Regions from separate parts of the Homo sapiens genome. Here region 2 is linked to region 1. The links are contacts of gene promoters, found by promoter capture Hi-C in human tissues and cell types (Jung and others, 2019). All regions are on one chromosome and are shown on one strand. The core of a region is centred on a gene start or on the middle of the fragment in contact, and the rest is flanking DNA. Distances in the headings are between cores, read along the strand shown.

Region 1 (5,679 bases), core at 599-3,098:
ATCTACAGACTTATCTGTGCGGAAGGAAGGAAAAAGTAGGGGACACCCAACTTCTCCTGCCTGTTTGTTCCTCTGCACCCTGGGGCTGGCAGAGTTGAAAGGAGACAGATACCCAGTTCGGCCTTCCATCCAACTCTCTTTGCCCCAAAACTCCAAAGGTGCGCGGCCACGACAGTATCTGGGCCACTGGTGTTCGACGTGATTCTCCGTATTTACTAAAGGAGTAAATACGGAGACCTTCCAGCCTTTATAGCACGCCTCTCCCAGCCTTCCTTGGCGGGCCTGGACCAAATCCAACTCGGCCACACACCTCAACGTCTTTCCGGGTGCGGGGAGGCGTGACCCCCCCACCTCCCTCTGCACCCCCTTGTTGATCCGGAAATGAAGGCGTCTAATTTTTAACCGCAGACTGCAGGAGCAGTGCCCGTAGACCCCTTCGGGGCAACACAGGAGAAAACCTGGAAGGGAACCCCCAGGGAATGCCCTTTGAGTTTCCCCTTGTCCCTTCTCTACTTTCAGCCCCCAGTCTCTTCCCAGGAGGGTATGCACACTCTCCCAGGAGGGTATGCACACTCTCCCAGGAGGGTATGCACACTCCCCCTGGAGGGATGGCTGCACAAACGCACTGCCCTAGGGGCTTTTCTTCCAGCACTGGCGCTCCGGAAAATGTTGGGGGTAGGGGGACAACTTCTCACCTAGTTCGCAGAGTCGGCTAAGGTGATGGGGGTTGCAGCACACCAGCTCGGGGTTGATCTTCCCGTAAGATTCACAGCAACACAGCCTCTTGACTTCCGAGGAATGCCTGAGATCCGGCCACCTGAACACTTTGCACAGCAGGAGGGGGAGCGAGTAGGACGAGGGCGGCTGCGCAGGCTGCGCGCCGGCGGGCGCCCCCGGGCCCAGCCTGCAGTCCAGGCGGCCGGGCAGCAGGAGGCACGCGGTGCGCGTCCCGCCGCGGGACTCCACGGCCTGGAGCAGCAGCTCCAGCTGCCGCTCCTTCAGTTTCTTGAGCACCGAGTGCGTGAGCGCCTTCAGATCCGCCTCGGCGCCCCCGGCCGCGCCGGCGCCCGCGGCTGGCGGGTGGGGATGGTGGTGACCTTTGGCACCTCGCACCGCCTTGCCCAGGCAGCATCCAGCCCTGCCCGGGCCGCCGCCACCGGCCCCATGCGCTCGGCTGTCCGTCGCCCCTTCTCCCCGCAGCTCGCCTCCTCCTCCACCTCCCCCTGCGCCCTCCTCCTCGTCCTCGCCGCCGGGCGCACGGCTCCTCCAGAGACGCCGGACGAGCGCAGATCGTTTGGTCCTGAACATGCGGGGCGAGGAGGCGAGGAGAAAAGTCGTTTGCCTGCTAAGGAGCGAACATGACCTCCGCACACCATGAAGAAGTCGGGCGCCGAGTTGGGGCAGCAGGCGCAGGCGACAGCAGCAGCAGCAGGGGCCCGGGCAGGAGCGGCGGCGGCCCGAGGGGCGCTCCGTGGCATGCGCCAGTCTCCCGGAGGCCGGGGCGCGCGCGGGGGCCCGGGGGCGCCCGCCGGGGATCGGGGGCCTGCGCTCCGGCTGCCCCACCCCGCGCGGCCCGCGCCCTGCGCGGCTCTCCGGCCCCGGCGCGCCCCGGAGGAACCCGGCCGCCGCTTCCCTGGGGACGGCCGAGCCTGCCCCCGTCGGCGCCTCCCCAAAAAGAGGCCCCCCCGCAGTGGCTCCCGAATGTCGGGCTCGCCAGCCTCGGCTTCCTACATGGAAGGTCCGCGGGGGCAAAAAACGAAAGGCGTTCGGCTGGGCTGTTGGAAGAAGGAAAAAGCCTCTTTCCCCCTTGCTAAGCAACTTAATTTGGGGGTGGGGAGAAGCAGGCAATTAAAAAAAAAAAAGCAAGCGATTTATTTTTTTCCTCTATATCCTTAGTAACCGGATCTCCTCGAATTCCGCGCACACGAAGACTCAGGGGAGGGGGCCGAGTGGACTTCACCCCGCATGAGACGTCTGGCAAAATAAGAAGGCTCTCGCAAAACCTAACAACCAAATATGCAAAGCCCCAAATGAAAACCACCACCTCCTCGAACCTCAGAGGTCTGGGGGCGTCCGGCTGGAACTGGGGTTTAAAAAAAGAAAATGTTTACAAAGTATAACAAGATGTTTGATGGGTGGAAAAATGTATCCACGAGTTACATCCCCCCGTTTCCTTGCAAAGCCCCGCTGGTCTTCCTCTCCTTTTCTTCTGCCAAAAAAAAAAAAAAAAATCGTGTATTTTTTTAATCCACAGAAAGCTTTGGCTAGACCGCTTCAATCCTGCGCATCTGGGTGGTTTAGGGGAGTCTCTGGTCTTTCCCCCTGCGCTCCTGGGGGCCCAGGTCCTCGGCGGGGACTTCCTCGAGGCTGGCGCGGGCGCAGGGGCAGAAGATGCTGCGGCGGCGGCTGAGCCCGGCGGGGCTGACAGCGCGGGGGAGGGTGGCGCGGCGGCGGCGGAGGGCCCCAGACGGGTCGCGCGTTCTCGCCCCCCCCGGGCACAAGCTGCTTGCTAGTGCAGGGGCCGCCGATGTCCCTTCCCCTGGCCGCGGCTGGCCGCCGAGGCTCCCCGCATGGGCTGCTCGCCTCGACCCAGCTGCGGCGGCAGGAGGCCCCGGTGTCCTCTCGGCGCCTCCTCCTCCGAGACTCTCCTCGTCGCGCCCGGGAGCCTCCTTGTCCCCGGTCCGCCCTCTCCTGGCGCTCCGGTCCTTCTGCCGCCGCCAGGGGCTCGCCGCGCCGCACTCAGGGGCTCAGGGGCCGGGCGCTCGGCGGCTCGGCGCCGACGGACTGGCTCTGTCTCGGGCAGCTCTCTCCCGCGCGGCGAGCGGACCGAGCACGGCGCCCGGCTGGCTCGGCTGGCGCGGCTCGGGGACAGGATCTTCCGTGCGCCGAGCAGCAAGCGAGTGTGCCCGGGGCTCACCGCCTCCCGCAAGGCCTCCCGCCCCCGCCCCCTTCCCTCCCCCTTCCTCCCCCTTCCCTCCCCCGCCCCCAGCCGCCGCAGCCGCGCCGCCTCCTCCCCGCCCCCCCGCACCCCCCCTCCGGCCCTCTGCTCGGCTGGTTCCACTGCGCAGTGGCGCGCCCGGCTCCGGCCTCGTCACGTGGCCGTCTAGACACCCTGTCGCTTTAAAAAAAAAAAAAAAGCGATTGTGTTTCGCAAACAACAGATCGGGTTTCTAAAAGCTATTTCTCCCCCCAACCCCCCGCCACCGCCACCCCCTCCCGGGTCTGTAGAGGGGGTACCGATGGAGGGGAGAGAGATAGGTGGGGGGCAGAGAAGCTCCCAGAATGGATTGAGCCCCGGCCGGAGCCATGGAGAAATTGGAAAAGCAGGGAGCACCGAGCGGGCTTCGCCGCGAGTTTTGGAGCTGAGCGAGCGGGTCGGTGGCCCGATTTCGACCCGGCTGGGTTTCGCGGTGGCCATCTCGCGCGCGCTCGCCCTAGCGCTTCATTCATTGGTTTTGTTTTAAAGGCCCTGGCGGTGGATCCCTTGGCCGCGCCCGAGGGCAAGGGGAGGAGAGCGCTGTCTCGGTTTAAAAGACATTTATACCGGACTGGACCGAGGCCCTGGGAAGTGTGCGCTGAGGGGAACAGCCGCCGAGGGCGGGGAGGCGGCGTGAATATGACCTCAGCGGCGGCCGCGCGCTCCCTCCCGCCCTCTCAGCTCCGGGCTCCGGTTTCTAGGACTGCCTGGAGAAGTGTGTCTTGTGCACAGCTCTGGAATGCATTTGGCCGGCTGACGAGCTGTGAGGGGCAGCATCCCGGCGGGAGAAGGGGAGCGGGGGTGGGGGCTCGCCTGCGCGCCGCGGGCAGGTTTCCTCCCGGGCCCGGAAGACCTCCGCCACCCGCCACCCTGCCTCCCGGCGCGGGAAGGTTACCCAGCGAGCAGACCTGCCTAGGGCATTCATTTGCATGCAGGCCCTGTTTCTGGGCCTCGTAGCTTTCAAGGTGCTTAGAGTCAGAGAGTTTATTCCTTGACCCCAGGTCCCGAAGAAACATATACCCAAGCTGGCGGGTTACTGCATAGAAACGGGCATGGCATTGCTAGGGCATAAACGCATTTACAGCGTGAAAGCTGATGGCTCCGAGAAACGTAATGATTTAAATACACACACATCAGTATTGATGAGGCCACTAGTTGGCATGGTGATCTAACCTCACTTCATATTCAGTGAAATACGATTTTTTTAAAAAGCCATTGAGAATTGTGAGATCAGGCCAGCAGTGAAACTCGTTGGGGGCTTTAAAGAATCTTTTTTTCTTTCTTTCTTTCTTTTTTTTTTTTTTTTTAGAGTCTCACTCTTCACCCGGGCTAGAGTCCAGTGGCTCGATTTCGGCTCACTGCAGCCTCTGCCTCCCCAGATCAAACGATTCTCCCACCTCAGCCTCCGGAGTAGCTGGGACTACAGGCGCGCGCCACCACATCTGGCTAATTTTTGTATTTTTTGGTAGTGACGCGGTTTAACCATGTTGGCCAGGCTGATGTGGAACTCCTGACCTCAAGTGATCTACCTGCCTCAGCCTCTCAAAGTACTGGGAGTACAGGCGTGAGCCACTGCACCTGGCCTTAAAATAATCTTTAGAAAAGGTGAAATGTGCCCAGGTGCGATGGCTCACGCTTGTAATCCCAGCACTTTGGGAGGCTGAGGCAGGTGGATCACCTGAGGTCAAGAGTTTGAGACCAGCCTGGCCAACATGGTGAAACCCGTCTCTACTAAAAATACAAAAATTAGCCAGGCGGGTGGCGCGCGCCAGTAATCCCAGCTGAGACAGGAGAATTGCTTGAACCCGGGAGACGGAGGTTGCAGTGAGCTGAGATCGCGCCACTGCACTCCATCCTGGGCAACAGAGTGAGACTCTGTCTCAAAAAAAGAAAAGAAAAAAAGAAAAGTAAAGATGAAATGTACATCTTGCCGGCTAAATTATATGTTCTTAAAAGGAAAAGGCAGGAATGAATCTTAGCCGCCTTTAGAGCTCAAGTCCTCTCCCCCTCTAGCAATTAAAAAGATTTCTAACATATTAGTACAATAGTAGATGCTTAATAAATATTTAGAAATCAACACTTAGGGCTTAAGGGGCATTTGGACCCTTCCTCCACCCCACCAAAAGTACCTTTGGTAATATAAATTCAAGAGGAAATCAGCAACATTGCTTACATGATCATTTCCAGGCAAGGAGATCCTAACACTTATTGACTTGGAAGATAGTAGGATGCCAAGCAGTGCAGAACCCTACTGGACGGACAGAAGCTGCCATTCTGAACATTTACTGTGTAAGGCCACATAAGCTGCAGTTGTATAACATCATAATTTTGTTGTAAATTAAAATATGGCTTGTATAAAAGGGCATTGAAACCTTGTGTGTGTATTAAAAAAACATTCTAAGAAGCAACCTGTGAAGACAGCAGCTGAGAAAGCACAGGAGAGAATGGAGAAGGAGTGTAATCCCAGCACTTTGGGAGGCCTATCATGATAGGCAAGGGAAGACGAAAGAGACAGAAGTGGGATTTTTTTTTTTTTTTTTTTTTTTGAGATGGAGCCTTGCTTTGTCACCCAGCCTAGAGGGCAGTGGCATGATCTCAGCTCACTGCAACCTCCGCCTCCTGGGTTCAAGCAATTCTCCTGCCTCAGCCTCCCTAGTAGCTGGAACTACACGTGCACTCCACACCTCGCTAATTTTTTTGTA
Region 2 (5,248 bases), core at 973-3,472, 440 kb after region 1:
GGGTAAGATGTAGATTTTGTAAGAGATGGGGTCTTATTATGTTGCCCAAGCTGGTCTTGAACTCTGACCTCAAGCAACCCTCCTGCCTCAGCCTCCTAAAGTTACCAGTATTACAGGCATGAGCCACCACTCCCAGCTACTTTCAGTTTTCTTAATGTAATTTTTTCTTTGTTTTCTCATTGCTTTGTTATATTTTTGTTTTTTCATCTTTTAATTTTATAATTTTTTTAAAAACCCAAAGTCACCTTAAAAGCCATTATCACAGTAACTACACTAATATTGTTACATAAAACTCCTTAATTTTCAGCACTGAATTGCGACATGGCTTTTGAAAGCCAGCTCTATTTAGCAAAAAATTCCCTAAGCTATGGTTGTAAGGCAAGACAACTACTACAATAACACCTTTTCATTATCAACATAGTTTGTTTTTAAAAACAAAAATATTTGGGCCCAGGCACGGTGGCTAACACCTGTAATATCCCAACACTTTGGGGGTCCAAGGTAGGAGGAGGAAGGCTTGCGGCCAGGAGCCTGAGACTAGCCTCGGCAACACAGGAGACCCCCATCTATACAAAAATAAAATAAAATCATTAGGCAGGTGTGGTGCCATGCACCTATAGCCCCAGCTTCTGAGGAGGCTGAGGTGGAAGGATCACTGAAGCCCAGGAGATCAAGGCTGCAGTGAGCCACAATGGCACCAGTGCACTCCAGCCTGGGCAGCAAAGCAAGACTCTATCTCTTTAAAAAAAAAAATAAATCATCAAAAACTGTTTTTAGCAAAATAGTTTATATGGGAGTTATCCATACAGCTCGATTTTTTTTTTTAATGTTTTTTGAGACAGAGTCTCGCTCTGTCGCCCAGGCTGGAGTGCAGTGGCGCGATCTCGGCTCACTGCAACCTCTGCCTCCCGGGTTCAAGCAATTCTCTGCCTCAGCCTCCCAAGTAGCTGGGATTACAGGCGCCCACCACCATGCCTTGCTAATTTTTGGATTTTTAGTAGTGACGGGGTTTCACCATCTTGGCCAAGCTGGTCTTGAACTCCTGACTTCGTGATCCACTCGCATCAGCCTCTCAAAATGCTGGGATTATAGGCGTGAGCCACTGTGTCCGGCCTAGACAGCCTGATTTTAAAACAGAATATTGTTCTCACTTATTACATTCCTGTACCCTAGGTATTTCACAGACACATTGTCTTACTTTTCAAAGCACCAATGCAATCTAAGTAAAACTGCCTGCATTTTAAAAATATATACAATTTCCTTCCAATTGCTATGAACTTGAAAGTTAAGCATTTGAGAAACAAGACCTGAAAAGGGTAACATTTGCTGACATAAATGGTTTGCAATGACTACATGACACACATTGTACTGAATATTTCATATTACCTAATTTTTCCTTATAAGAATCCTGTAAATAGTTGTCCTTATCCTCAATCTATATGAGGAAATTAAGGCTCAGCTAATAGGTAGCACAGCTGAAATTAAAATCATAAAATGATTCTGGATTCCATGCTCTTTGCCATAATATCAAGTTGTTATGGAAACTTCCTAATATACATTCTTAATAGATTTTAATATTGTTCTGGTGAACATAGTCAATAACAGCACTTGGTAAATCACATTATTTTCAGTATTTCAAAATTCACAAAAAGAACAAGACGAAAGAGTGTCTATGGCTTAGCAGAGTCCATTACCACTACTGCAGATATAGCCAAGCATGTGTCATATTGCTATTGACTGAAGGGTACCTTCTAGCAGCATCTGTGAATGCCACAAATAGAAAAAATTATTACTATTGCTATCAAAGAAGAGTAATTACTTCATTAATTCAGTTCATATTATACTATCAAAATCTAAAACAAAATTTGAAAACAACACCCCACACACATTTTTCCCACTTACCTAATGACCTGCAGACTGAAATGGTTGCTTCCTCCAAGAGTTTCAACTCACTACTGGAGAGACAGAAGAATAAAGGTAATTAATGACTATAATACTAAATATGTACATGCTAATCAGTTAAAGAAATATATAAAGATAAGAAAAATAATTTAGAAGAAAAATATGGTGCACAGTAGTGAACAATAAGATCAGCAAAAAAAAAAGTTAGGCTTCAATTTTCAATATAATTAGGAAATTTACTGTATTTCTAAATATGAGACTCCTAAAGAGAAGAGCTTGGGGCACCCTGCCTTTCAGGCATTAAGGCAGCAGGGAGACTTAGAAAAATTCAAGAAAGGCACTCCAAAGTAGAGAGCTCAAGGCAAGGGCCCTGTGTGCCCAATTCTAAAGGCAGTACTAATTATAGTTTAGAAATATGCTATTATTTTTAGGAAATACATGGAGTGTCATGATTGCTACAATACTTTCAAAAAGTTCTAGAAAAAAAGGAAAAGGAAGAAATAAAGCAAGAAAAGAGAGACGATACATATATGTTTTGGTGGTTTATAAATATATAGAAAAAAGATACAAAGATACAAACATACAGAAACAGATACAGAGACAGACTCAAGATGACACAGAGAAAAGAGGCACAGATAGACAGAGACAGAAATAAAGCTTAGAAGAAAATATGTTTCTTGAGATTGCATTTGACAACAATTTCTTGGATGTGACACCAAAAAGCACAGGTATCAACAGAAAAAAACAGACATGCTGGACTTTACCAAAATTAAAAACTTCTGTGGATCAAAGGATACTATCTACAGAGTGAAAAGTCAACCCACAGAATGGAAAACAGTACTTGTAAATCACATATCTGATAAGAGATTGATATCCAGAATATACTTTTAAAACTCCTACAACTCAACAACAACAAAAACCAAACAACCCAATTTTAAAATGGACCAACGACTTAAATAGCCATTTTCCAAAGAGGATATAGAAATGGCCAATAAGTACATGAAAACATGCTCAACATCACTAGTCATTAGTGAAACACTAAAACCAGAGCGAGATACTACTCCACACCCATTGGGATGGCTTTTATTTAAAAAAAAAAAAAAAAAAAAAAAAAAAAAGAGGCCAGGCGAGGTGGGCTCACACCTGTAATCCCAGCACTTTGGGAGGCTGAGGAGGGCAGATAACTTGAGGTCAGGAGTTCAAGACCAGCCTGGCCAATATGGTGAAACCCATCTCTACTAAAAATACAAAAATTAGCCAGGCATGGTGGTACACGCCTGTGATCCCAGCTACTTGGGAGGATGCAGCAGGAGAATTGCTTGAACCCAGGAGGCAGAGGTTACAGTGAGCCAAGATCGTGCCACTGCACTCCAACCTGGGAGACAGAGTCAGACTCCATCTCAAAAAAAAAAAAAGAAGAAGAAGAAGAGGAAGAAGGAGGAGGAGGAGGAGGAGGAGGGGAGGAGGGGAGGAGGAGGAGGAGGAAAGAAGGGAGGGAGGGAAGGAAGGAAGGAAGGAAGGAAGGAAGGAAGGAAGGAAGGAAGGAAGGAAGGAAGGAAGGAAGGAAGGAAGGAAAAAAGAAAGTAACAAGTGTTAGCAAGGATGCAGAGAAATTAGGACCCTTGTGCACTGATGGTATGTAAAATGATGCAGCCACTATGGCAAAAATATGGCAGTTCCTCAAAAAATTAAACATAAAATTACCATCCGGGTAGATACCCAAAAGAAGTGAAAGCAGGGTCTTGAAGAGATAGTTGTACACTCGTGTCCATGGCAGCTCCACTAACAGTAGCCAAGAGGTAGAAGTAACCCACATGTGTACCAACAGATAGATGGATAAATGAAATGTACATACACACAATGGAATATTATTTAGTCTTAAGAAATAGGGAATTTTGACAGGCGCGGTGGCTCATGCCTGTAATCCCAGCACTTTGGGAGGCCAAGGCGGGCAGATCACCTGAAGTCGGGAGTTCAAGACCAGCCTGACCAACATGGAGAAACCCCATCTCTACTAAAAATACAAAATTAGCCGGGTGTGGTGGTGCATGCCTGTAATTTCAGCTACTCGGGAGGCTGAGGCAGGAGAATCACTTGAATGCAGGAGGCAGAGATTGCGGTGAGCTGAGATGGCACCATTGCACTCCAGCCTAAGCAACAAGAGAGAAACTTCATCTCAAAAGAAAATAATAATAAAAATAAATAAATAAAAATAAAATAGGGAATTTCAATATATGCTACAACATGAATGAACCCTGAAGACATTATGCTAAGTGAAATAAGCCAGCCACAAAAAGATAAATATTGTATGATTCCTCTTATATGAGGCTCCTAGAGGAGTTAAACTCAAAGAGAAAAAGTAAAAAGGTGATTGCCAGGGGCTGGGGATGGGAGAATAGGGAACTAGTGTTTAGTCAGTATAGAGTTTCAGTTTGCCAAGATTAAAAAGTTTTAGAGATGGATGGTGTTAATGATTGCATGATAATGTGAATATACTTAATGCCACAGAACTATATACTTTAAAATGGTTAAAATGATTATTTTACATTGTGTATATTTCACCACAATTTTTTTAAGTGCATTTCAACTCCAGTTCAACTACTTACTAGATAGTTGAGCTTGGGCTGGTTTGTTAAATCTTTATGTCTTAATTTCCTCATATATAAAACAGAAATAGTAACAGTACCTTCATAAGGTTATTATGATTAAATTAATTATATGATATCGATAAAGCACTTAGAACAGTGCCTGGCACAAAGTAAGTCCTCAACAAATGATAGATTCTGTTTCATTTGTCTGTTTTTTTTTATACCAGTACCATGCTGTTTTGGTTACTATTGCTTTGTAGTATATTTTGAAATCAGGTAACGTAATGTCTCCAGATTTGCTCTTTTTGCTCAAGATTGCTTTGGCTATTCTGGGTCTTCTGTGTTGCCATAGAAATTTTAGAATTTTTTTTCTATTTCTGTGAAAAATATCACTGGTATTTTGATAGGGATTGCATTGAATCTGTAGATCACTTGAGATAGCATAGACATTTTAACAATATTTATTCTTCCGATACGTAACAAGGGATATTCTTTGCATTTATTTATGTCTTCTTCAATTTTTTTCATCAATATCTTATAGTTTTCATTGCAGAGATCTTTACCTCCTCAGTTAAATTTATTGCTAGGTTTTTTTAATAGCTACTGTAAATGTATTACCTTATTTCTTTTCCAGATAGTTCAACAGAATAAAGAACCCAGAAATAAATCCACACATGATTTTTGACAAAGGCATCAAGAACACACAATGGGGAAAGAACAATCTCTTCAACAAATGGTACTGTGTAAACTGAATATTC

The links. The method cuts DNA at HindIII sites, captures the fragments that hold promoters and counts their contacts. A contact is called where the count stands out against the background at its distance.
Region 2: a contact is called between a fragment that was not itself captured here and the fragment with the promoter of SMAD7 in region 1, in 1 of the 25 tissues and cell types used here (lymphoblastoid cells).

What each region holds. Positions count from the first base shown.
Region 1 is chr18:48,949,117-48,954,795 of GRCh38, forward strand. It overlaps SMAD7 (SMAD family member 7), which reads right to left and starts at 1,849. Exons shown (of 4, transcript NM_005904.4): 1 at 696-1,849. The coding sequence starts at 1,308. RefSeq lists silencers at 787-1,106, 2,323-3,022, 3,593-3,932. The HindIII fragment of the contact is 10,376 bases long and covers 627-5,679 here.
Region 2 is chr18:49,389,691-49,394,938 of GRCh38, forward strand. It overlaps DYM (dymeclin), which reads right to left. Exons shown (of 18, transcript NM_001353214.3): 3 at 1,903-1,955. Among named protein-coding and RNA genes, the nearest start is that of DYM, 68 kb to the right of the region's middle. The HindIII fragment of the contact is 3,584 bases long and covers 431-4,014 here.